Regions from separate parts of the Homo sapiens genome. Here all the other regions are linked to region 2. The links are contacts of gene promoters, found by promoter capture Hi-C in blood cells and fetal thymus (Javierre and others, 2016). All regions are on one chromosome and are shown on one strand. The core of a region is centred on a gene start or on the middle of the fragment in contact, and the rest is flanking DNA. Distances in the headings are between cores, read along the strand shown. Region 1 overlaps DENND5B (DENN domain containing 5B). Region 2 holds the start of DENND5B-AS1 (DENND5B antisense RNA 1). Region 3 overlaps DENND5B (DENN domain containing 5B).

What was found. Contacts are between HindIII fragments. The CHiCAGO score rates a contact against its expected background, and 5 or more counts as called.
Region 1: a contact is called between a fragment that was not itself captured here and the fragment with the promoter of DENND5B-AS1 in region 2, in 1 of 17 cell types (endothelial precursors). The highest score is 7.4, in endothelial precursors.
Region 3: a fragment that was not itself captured here is called in contact with the fragment with the promoter of DENND5B-AS1 in region 2 in 1 of 17 cell types (endothelial precursors); the score reaches 5.6 in endothelial precursors.

The regions. Positions count from the first base shown.
Region 1 is chr12:31,453,205-31,455,930 of GRCh38, reverse strand. The region is part of intron 4 of DENND5B (DENN domain containing 5B); the gene reads left to right. Among named protein-coding and RNA genes, the nearest start is that of LINC02387, 85 kb to the right of the region's middle. The HindIII fragment of the contact is 1,657 bases long and covers 632-2,288 here.
Region 2 is chr12:31,588,482-31,591,303 of GRCh38, reverse strand. It overlaps DENND5B-AS1 (DENND5B antisense RNA 1), which reads right to left and starts at 1,381. Exons shown (of 3, transcript NR_046909.1): 1 at 1,185-1,381. It overlaps DENND5B (DENN domain containing 5B), which reads left to right and starts at 168. Exons shown (of 21, transcript NM_144973.4): 1 at 168-598. The coding sequence starts at 472. RefSeq lists silencers at 18-307, 378-647, 798-1,137 and an enhancer at 1,568-1,647. The HindIII fragment of the contact is 7,998 bases long and covers 1-2,822 here.
Region 3 is chr12:31,386,966-31,389,822 of GRCh38, reverse strand. DENND5B (DENN domain containing 5B) reads left to right here. Exons shown (of 21, transcript NM_144973.4): 20 at 325-499; 21 at 2,037-2,857. The coding sequence ends at 2,220. Among named protein-coding and RNA genes, the nearest start is that of LINC02387, 19 kb to the right of the region's middle. The HindIII fragment of the contact is 3,687 bases long and covers 1-2,857 here.

The DNA.
Region 1 (2,726 bases), core at 211-2,710, 140 kb after region 2:
TCTCCTGCCTCAACCTCTCAACTAGCTGGGATTACAGGCGCCTGCCACTACGCCCAGCTTATTTTTTGTGTTTAGTAGAGACGGGCTTTCACCATGTTGGTCAGGCTGATCTCAAACTCCTGACCTTGTGATTTGCCCACCTTGGCCTCCCAAAGTGCTGGGATTACAGGCATGAGCCACCATGCCCAGCCCACTTTTGTTGTTTTTAATAGGAAGTAGTTACATATCATGAAGGCTTGTGAGCAGTGTTGATCAGTAGAAATATTTAGTCCTAAAGCAATGTCAGATTGAGGTGTTGAGTAAATTTTTATCATGTAATACTTATTGAGCTCTTCTGAATTTTTTTTAATTTAATGGTGTTAAAAGTGAGAAGCAACTTATCAGAATGCCCTATTATAGAGTTCTCGTTTGTTTTGGAGAAAGGGCTTTTTGGTTTTCTTCAATACATTTTCATAACACAGTTTGTATTTCCTGTTCTACTTTGAGATAATCAAAGCCCCAGCTTGGGCCCTTCTTAAGCAGACATAGGAGACTTTTGTGGGATCATGAAGACAGACCAGTAGCTATGGTGTTGGAACTCCTACTTTGTAGTACACTCAGCTCAGCAGTGATTTCATGACCATAATAAGCTTTAAAATTTCAGAAAATGTATCATTTTCCCTTTTCATAGGAGGAGGAGAGGGATAGAAAAAGGTAGTAGGAAGGCATTAGTGAAGGTGATAGTACAAAATCTAAGTGGTGGGAGGTTGCTGGTTAACATTTAGATTAGCAAATTAGTAAATTTTTTCTTCCATTTTAAAGATACTGAATTGGCCGGGCGCGGTGGCTCACGCCTGTAATCCCAGCACTTTGGGACGCCAAGGTGGGCGGATCACAAGGTCAGGAGATCGAGACCATCCTGGCTAACACGGTGAAACCCTGTCTCTGCTAAAAATACAAAAAAAATTAGCCGGGCGTGGTGGCAGGCACCTGTAGTCCCAGCTACTTGGGAGGCTGAGGCAGGAGAATGGCGTGAACCCAGGAGGCAGAGGTTGCAGTGAGCCAAGATCGCACCACTGCACTCCAGCCTGGGCAACAGAGCAAGACTCCATCTCAAAAAAAAAAAAAAAAAAAAAAAAGATACTGAATCATCCATTCAAATTATGTGACCTTCATTTAAGCCTTTCAGTGTAAAGAATGGTGTAGGCCGGCCAGGCGCAGTGGCTCACACCTATAATCCCAGCACTGTGAGAGGCTGAGGCAGGTGGATTACGAGGTCAGGAGTTCAAGACCAGCCTGGCCAAGATGGTGAAACCCCATCTCTACTAAGAATATAAAAAAATTACCCAGGCATGGTGGTGGACACCTGTAATCCCAGCTACGCGGGAGGCTGAGGCAGACAATTGCTCGAACCCAGGAGGCAGAGTTTGCAGTGAGCTGAGATCGCACCACTACACTCCAGCCTGGGTGACAGAGCAAGACTACATCTCAAAAAAAGAAAAGAAAAGAATGGTGTAGGCAGTGCTACTGTCTTCAGCAAGATGCGACATTTCAGCTCTTTATTTATTTAGAGAAAACTGCTGACATTGGAGGTGAGGAAAAATAGCAGGGAAAGGCCATAAGCCACCAGGCTGTTTGAGGGTGCACATTTGGAACAGGTGCCAGGAAGTCACCTAATTTCTTGGGCCTCGGTTTCTTCATCTGCAAAATTAAAAGACTGGATTCAAAGATTACATCAGGCTTTAGGAATCATTGTTGATCATCTGGCTTTGAAAGGAGGGAAACCGAAATTTTTTTTTTTTTTTTTTTGGCCAAAGTCTCGCTGTGTTTTGCCCAGGCTGGAGTGCAGTGGCACGATCTTAGCTCACTGCAACCTCTGCCTCCTGAGGTCAAGTGATTATCCTGCCTTAGCCTCCCGAGTAGCTGGGATTACAGGTGCATGCCACCATGCCCAGCTAATTTTTATATTTTTAGTAGAGACAGAGTTTCACCATGTTGGCCAGACTGGTCTTGAACTCCTGACCTCAAGTCATCCTCCCGCCTCAGCCTCCCAAAGTGCTGGAATTACAGGCATGAGGCACCATGCTAGGCCTCATTTTGAGTTTTTATTGAGCTTAATTTAGAGTTTCACTATGCTGCTTGCTAATTGGTATCTAACATGAAGAGCAAGGATCAAAAGAGAAAAACAAAGACCCGACTGGTTGCTTTCCCCTTTCCCCTTACTTTGCCGTCTAGGATCAGAGAGCAGTGTGAATTTTCCCCTTGGTGCCTGGGGGTGGGGGAGCCAGGGAGAAACACATAGTGAAGCTTCCTATTTTGTTTATTAACTTCCACCCCATGTCTTATGTTCAACCATTGATGTAATCAATATTATTTTTATGTGATGGGCTACACTTTTGGCACTCCACCCCCCAATCTAGAAACACAACCTTCTTTTTAACTAACAACCTTGTCCTGATTAAGAGAGTATGGACAGTAGAGGTTAAATACTGTTTGAAGTCTACTACAGATACCTGAGGGATAATCAGAACTTTATACATATGCTTGGCCTCTTGAATTTTCTATATCTACTTGAAAAATATTTAAAATATTTATTCAAAATAAATTCCAAATGTAGAGTGTAAACAAACTCAAACATTTCTTCTGATTTCTGTCACCTCTTCTACTCAACTCAAAAATATCTTGTGTGAACTCTTAATTATTCAAAGGTTAATCAAGTGCATAGTTACATATGCACTTGCCTCTAC
Region 2 (2,822 bases), core at 132-2,631:
GGCTTGGCCTCCGAACCCGCTAGGCGCGCGCGCACGGTAGAAGCGCGCGCCTCCGTCCCTCGCGAGCGCGCCCCCCACCCCTCTCCGTCGCACGCGCCGAGCCCCGGCGCCCCCGCCCGCCCCGCGCTCCCACAGCCCGAGCGCCGCTCAGCTGACCCGCGGGCGCCAGACGCGGCGGCTCTCAGCTCGCGAGCGCAGCTGCGGCTGCGAGGGCCTCTCAGGCCGACACTCCCCCCGCGCCCCTCCCCCACCCGGCCGGGCTCCGGACCCGCCGCGCGCGAGCCCGCGGCCGCTTCCCCCGCGCCGAGCGAGGAGGCAGGCTGCGGCGGCGAGAGGCGGCTGCGCGGCCATGGGCGCGCCAGTGTCGCCCTAGGGCGGGCGCACAGACCACAGCCGGAGCGGTGGTGGCAGCCTCCGCAGAAAGCCTTCCCGGGCGGCGGCGGCGGCGGCCCCTGGAGCAGCGCGGCCGGGATGAGCGGGAGCTGCGCGGCGCCCGGCCCGGGCTCGGGCTCCTCCCCGGCCGCCTGCCGCTTCGCGCACTACTTCGTGCTGTGCGGGATCGACGCGGACAGCGGGCTGGAGCCTGACGAGCTGGCGGGTAAGGCCAGGGCTGCGGCGGCGCTGAGCCCCCTCAGGGGCGCGGGGGACGCTGTGGGGACGCGCGGGAGGCGGGGTGCAGGCTCCAGACAAAGTCAGCTCCCGGTGGCGCCCTCCCGCCGCTTTCTGGCCGAACTGGCGCTCGGGCGCGATTTAATGACATTGTTATTTATTCCGCGTGCGGGCTTTGCGGCTGCGCCCACCGGGGCTTTCGCCTCCAGGCGCTGGGTTATTAATAACAGGCGCGGGGGTGGCCCCAAGGGCACGGACCCCGCCTGGCGCGCCGGCCCCTTCGCTTGCAGCCGCACTCGGAGGCGGCCGGTGAGTCACCGGGCGCGCGGGCTGCCCCCCGACCGCCGTGCCTGCCTCCCACCCGCCAGCCACCCGGCCCCGGCCGCGAAGTTTCGGCCCCGCACGTGACGCGGCTTTCGGGCCTCTTCGGGAGACGGGGAGTCGGACTCAGCTCGGCTCCCGCCGGGGTAGCGTCCGCGGAGGAGCCGGTGGCCGTGCGGAGCGAGCGCGGGGCGGGGACCGGTCGGACTCTGCCCTCTGCGCCGCCTGCCGCTCTGCGGTGCCGGCCAAGTCACCTTTTGGAATCCTGTGGATTTGGCCGCGTCTGGGAGCTGGCAGGGACCTTTGGACGCTCGGGACCCAGCACCGCGCTTTGTTGACACTGCCTACACTGTTCCCGAGTTTAAATTCAGTTGGGTGCACCGTGTGTTAGTGCCTGGTTTTCCCGGAGGGGTACCGGTCCTTCCGCTTGACTCATTTGATGGCGCAGTGCGGGGCTGTGCTGGGCAAACGACGCCGTTAAAAGGGGCCGCTAAAGGGCGATGGGCGGGGGCAGGGCAGCGGAGTGCGCAGTGTCGAGAGGAGGCCGGGGAGAAACAACTGATTTCATTTTTCACGCCTGTTCCTTTCTGCTTGCCTCCGCGGGATCTGAATCTTGATTTGTTGTTGTTGTTAAATGGGTGAGAGAAGTGACATCTACCGCCTGAACTTTGTGTTAAAGACTTAGGTCATAGCCTTTCAGAACAACTTCCTTTGGACAAATAATTCCTTATTGATTGCACTAACGTAAATTTTTCGCTTTTCCTTTGGTGGGGGTGGGGAGACTGGGAAGAATATATTAAATAATAAACAATAGTAAACAAAACTGTTCAGCCTTAAAATACAGTCCCCATCAACCCACGTCTTGGCTATCTTCTTCTTAACTCAGCTTCAGAGCAAAACATTTTCTTTTTTTCATATTCTTCGGAGGTAGAAACACAAAACATTTTCAACAAAAACTGTAAGTCTAGTTTTAGTTAAAAAAAAATTTGGAGAGATAATAGAATACCAAGTTTTTCCGTATGTGTAATTATGTAATCACATTGTTTCTTCAACTAAGATTTCATGTACATGTTAAGAATGGCTTTGTTAAAGGATATGAAGAAAAAATGTCTGCAGAGAGATTTGGAGAGATTCTTCTCGAGATTGGTGAAGGAATATTGTTATTTTTCTAGACTCCTTTCTTCCCTAAAGATCCTAAACATTTGTGGCACCAGGGTCACTTGGAGGCCTTCTGTCAGTGATGACTAATGAAAGGAAAAAAGCCTGTATTTTTCTTTTCCGTTTGCCTACTGAAGCTAAAACTGTACCTTTTAGGTGTGACCTAGGACTCTTTAGGCACAGAGAGAATGATGTTAACAAAACCATCAATTAGACTTTAATGCATTTTTAAGAAACAAACTATGATGTCTCTTTTTGCAAAACTGTGTGAGTGTGGGTGATTGGGATTTCTGCTTCTCATAATATTTAATGTATTCAGGTAATAATGTATTTTGCCTTGTAATATTTCAGTATCATTCATCCAACAGTTTTGAAAGCATCTATCTGTAGTCGGTTTTTTAGGCACTGGGGACAGCTGTGAAGAAAGCAGTCAGAAATCCCTGCCATCATGGAGCATACGTTCTAGTGTAAAGAGATAATGAAAATACAATCATCTCTCCGTAACCATGGGGGATGGATTCTAGAGTGTCCCCCACACCAAAATCCTCGGATGCTGAAGTCTCTTATAATAAAATGTTGTAGCATTTGTATATAACCTATGAACATTTTCCTGTACACTTTGTCATCTCTAGATTACTTACAATACCTGTTACGTTGTAATGTTATGTAAATAGTTGTTATACTGTATTGTTTAGGGAATAATGACAAGAAAAGAAGTCTGTACATGTTCAGTA
Region 3 (2,857 bases), core at 237-2,736, 200 kb after region 2:
TCCTAGAAGGTTCCAGTCTTAACAGAAGATGCTATTTTTGTTTTCTTTTTTGCCAGTTTCTGTTTCCTGAAGGTATTTTAAAGGGAGTAAACTTTCCAGTCTTCTGGAATGCAGTCTAAATTAGAAAATAAATTCCTGGGAGCATATTTATTGTTCTACCATGAAACATCGACCCCTAAAATCAATGATAAAGTAATGATATTGGCTTCAGGACTGACTGTATGCAAAGCATCGTTAGTGTTTCCATAATAAATTAAGTGATGAATCTTTCTATATATGAAGTGTTGACACATATTGTGACATAATTCTGACTTTTTTCCTCAGAGAAAGTGGTTGCTTATTTTGAAACAACTGACCAGATTCTAGATAATGAAGATGATGTCCTTATTCAGAAATCATCCTGCAAAACCTTCTGCCACTACGTAAATGCTATTAATACTGCACCCAGGAACATTGGGAAGGATGGCAAATTCCAGATTTTAGTTTGCCTTGGAACAAGGTACAAAACCAGTTTTTTATTTTCCCTATCTTTGTCACATGTTGAACTAGAGTCCAGAAAAGGTTATACCAGATCATACCCCTTCCAGAGCTCTCCTTTGGGTTTCTTTCCTTTTACTTTTTCTTTTGAAACAGAGTCTCACTCCATCGCCTAGGCTGGAGTACCGTGGCATAATCTTGGCTCACTGCAACCTCTGCCTCCTCCCTTGGGTTTCTTTAATTCACCACCACCACTACATGAGGTAGCAACCGATTTTTTCATTTTAAAGATGAGAAAGTAGAAAATAGATGAGGCACACGTAAGTTAGCAGACTTTCCCAAGATCACACAGAAAAATGAGACAGAGCCAGGTTCACACCCTGTCCCACTTCAGAGCCCAAGCTCTCCACCATGACTGTATACTGGCTCGACAGATAGATAGGTAATAAGGAAGTTGTTAGATAACTAGACACATACACTGTACATATTTACTAAGTAAACCTTATATAGTGTATATATACCACTATATTTACATTTAATAACATTATGGGATTCTTGCTATATAAATATCATCTTCTCTTTAAGACTATTTCCTACCCCTTTATTTTTTGAAAGTGGCACATAGGAGCGATACAATCCATTACTTTTAAAACAGATCTCAGAATTGTAAGAAATGAAACATACAGACCTTTAGATTTCTTTTTTTAAGTTACCCATGTAGTATTTGTTTTTTCCTGAACCTTAAGAGCCCCAACTTGAGACTGAAGATGGCCTGATTGGGGATGCTCAATAAGGATGTCTTAGGAACTTAGCAATGGGTTACTAATGTCAGGTTTGATCAGGAAACATTGAAGATGTGAGGTTTTATCTTCCTGAAACAGCTGGTTTACAGAACTAAGTTCTGTATTTCTTCTTCATAAAAGGAGCCCAGTTTTAGCTGTGCTTTTAAAGTTTCTTTTGAGCATGATCTTTATCTCCTTTTATCTCTATACTCTTCTGATTTATTAGACCATTGCAAACTCTCATCTGGTTTATAAAATCTACTTAATGTTTTTCTGCTTTGATTTTGTTCCTCACCCTGTTATGTTATATAAGTTAAAAAAAAAAAAAAAAAAAAAAGCAAGTCCCTACAGTTTAGTGTAGTCTTTCTTCCAAAAGGTCAGTATACTGTGGCATGCCTTGCCACAGAGTAACACTCCTATTAAAAAAAAAGACATAGAAAATGACATTCTGCCTCTTTCTAAAGGTGGTAAAATCAGAATAGAGAATGTCTTTAATGTGCATAGACTTTCTAATGTACTTTAAACTCTTAAAGTACATTAAATTGGGTTTAAAATAATGGGTTTTCCCTTTAGCTTTCTTTACACTGTCTCATCACTGTCTTTTTACCAGAAAATATTCAACTTCTTGGCTTTGATTTCCTCTCTCCTGACCTCTTAGCTTGGATACATTTTGTACCATCAAGTCCCACACCTTCCCATTCATACAGACTCCACTGTGTGCCTTGTTCTGCAGCGAGGCCAGCAATGCTCAGGAATTGTTTCTGTTTGGGTCTGTAGGGATCGCCTGCTCCCACAGTGGATTCCATTGTTAGCTGAGTGTCCTGCCATCACTCGAATGTATGAAGAGAGCGCTCTCCTGCGAGACCGCATGACTGTCAACTCCCTTATCCGAATTCTGCAGACCATTCAGGACTTCACCATAGTCCTAGAAGGATCACTCATCAAAGGAGTGGATGTGTAACCCAACTGGCTAGAAACTCTCAGTCCAAACCTTGCTCCTTCCCCAACTAGGGGACCGATTTGGACTTGTCTGACAGTAGTGAGTCACTGCAGGGGCAGCCAAACATATGCCCCATTTGGAACAATCCTCACTCTACAGACAAGGCAAAATGTTGTATTGTAGTTCATTTGAACCTGGAATTTAGTATAAAATAGAGTATTTTCATGTGTTAGATGTGTGTAAATATGCTATCTTCTTTAAGAAATTATATTACTCTAATAAGATGCTTTTCTTAGATTGAATATTCCTGTGACTTAAAATAAGTAGCTTAAAAATGTTGGGGGTTGGGGGGAAGAGTGGTGCTAGCCAGGAAGAAGCCAGTAAACATGTAAATATAGTGCAACCCAGTCGGGCTTTTTTTTTTCTCCAGGTATCACAAAGAAACCCAGAATGCATTGTTATGTAGTAGCCATCCATCTTGGAGTCTGATCCTTTGTATTGTGGATGCACACAGCTTTACCTACTGTACTGGTAGTCTTCACTTCTATCTTTTAAGTTACAAACTGTTTTATATATTTGAATCGCTAGTCACTTTTCCAGTCTTTTGGAAAAAAATTTCAGTCCGCACAAGATGATATAATTGGAGTATTTTAAACAC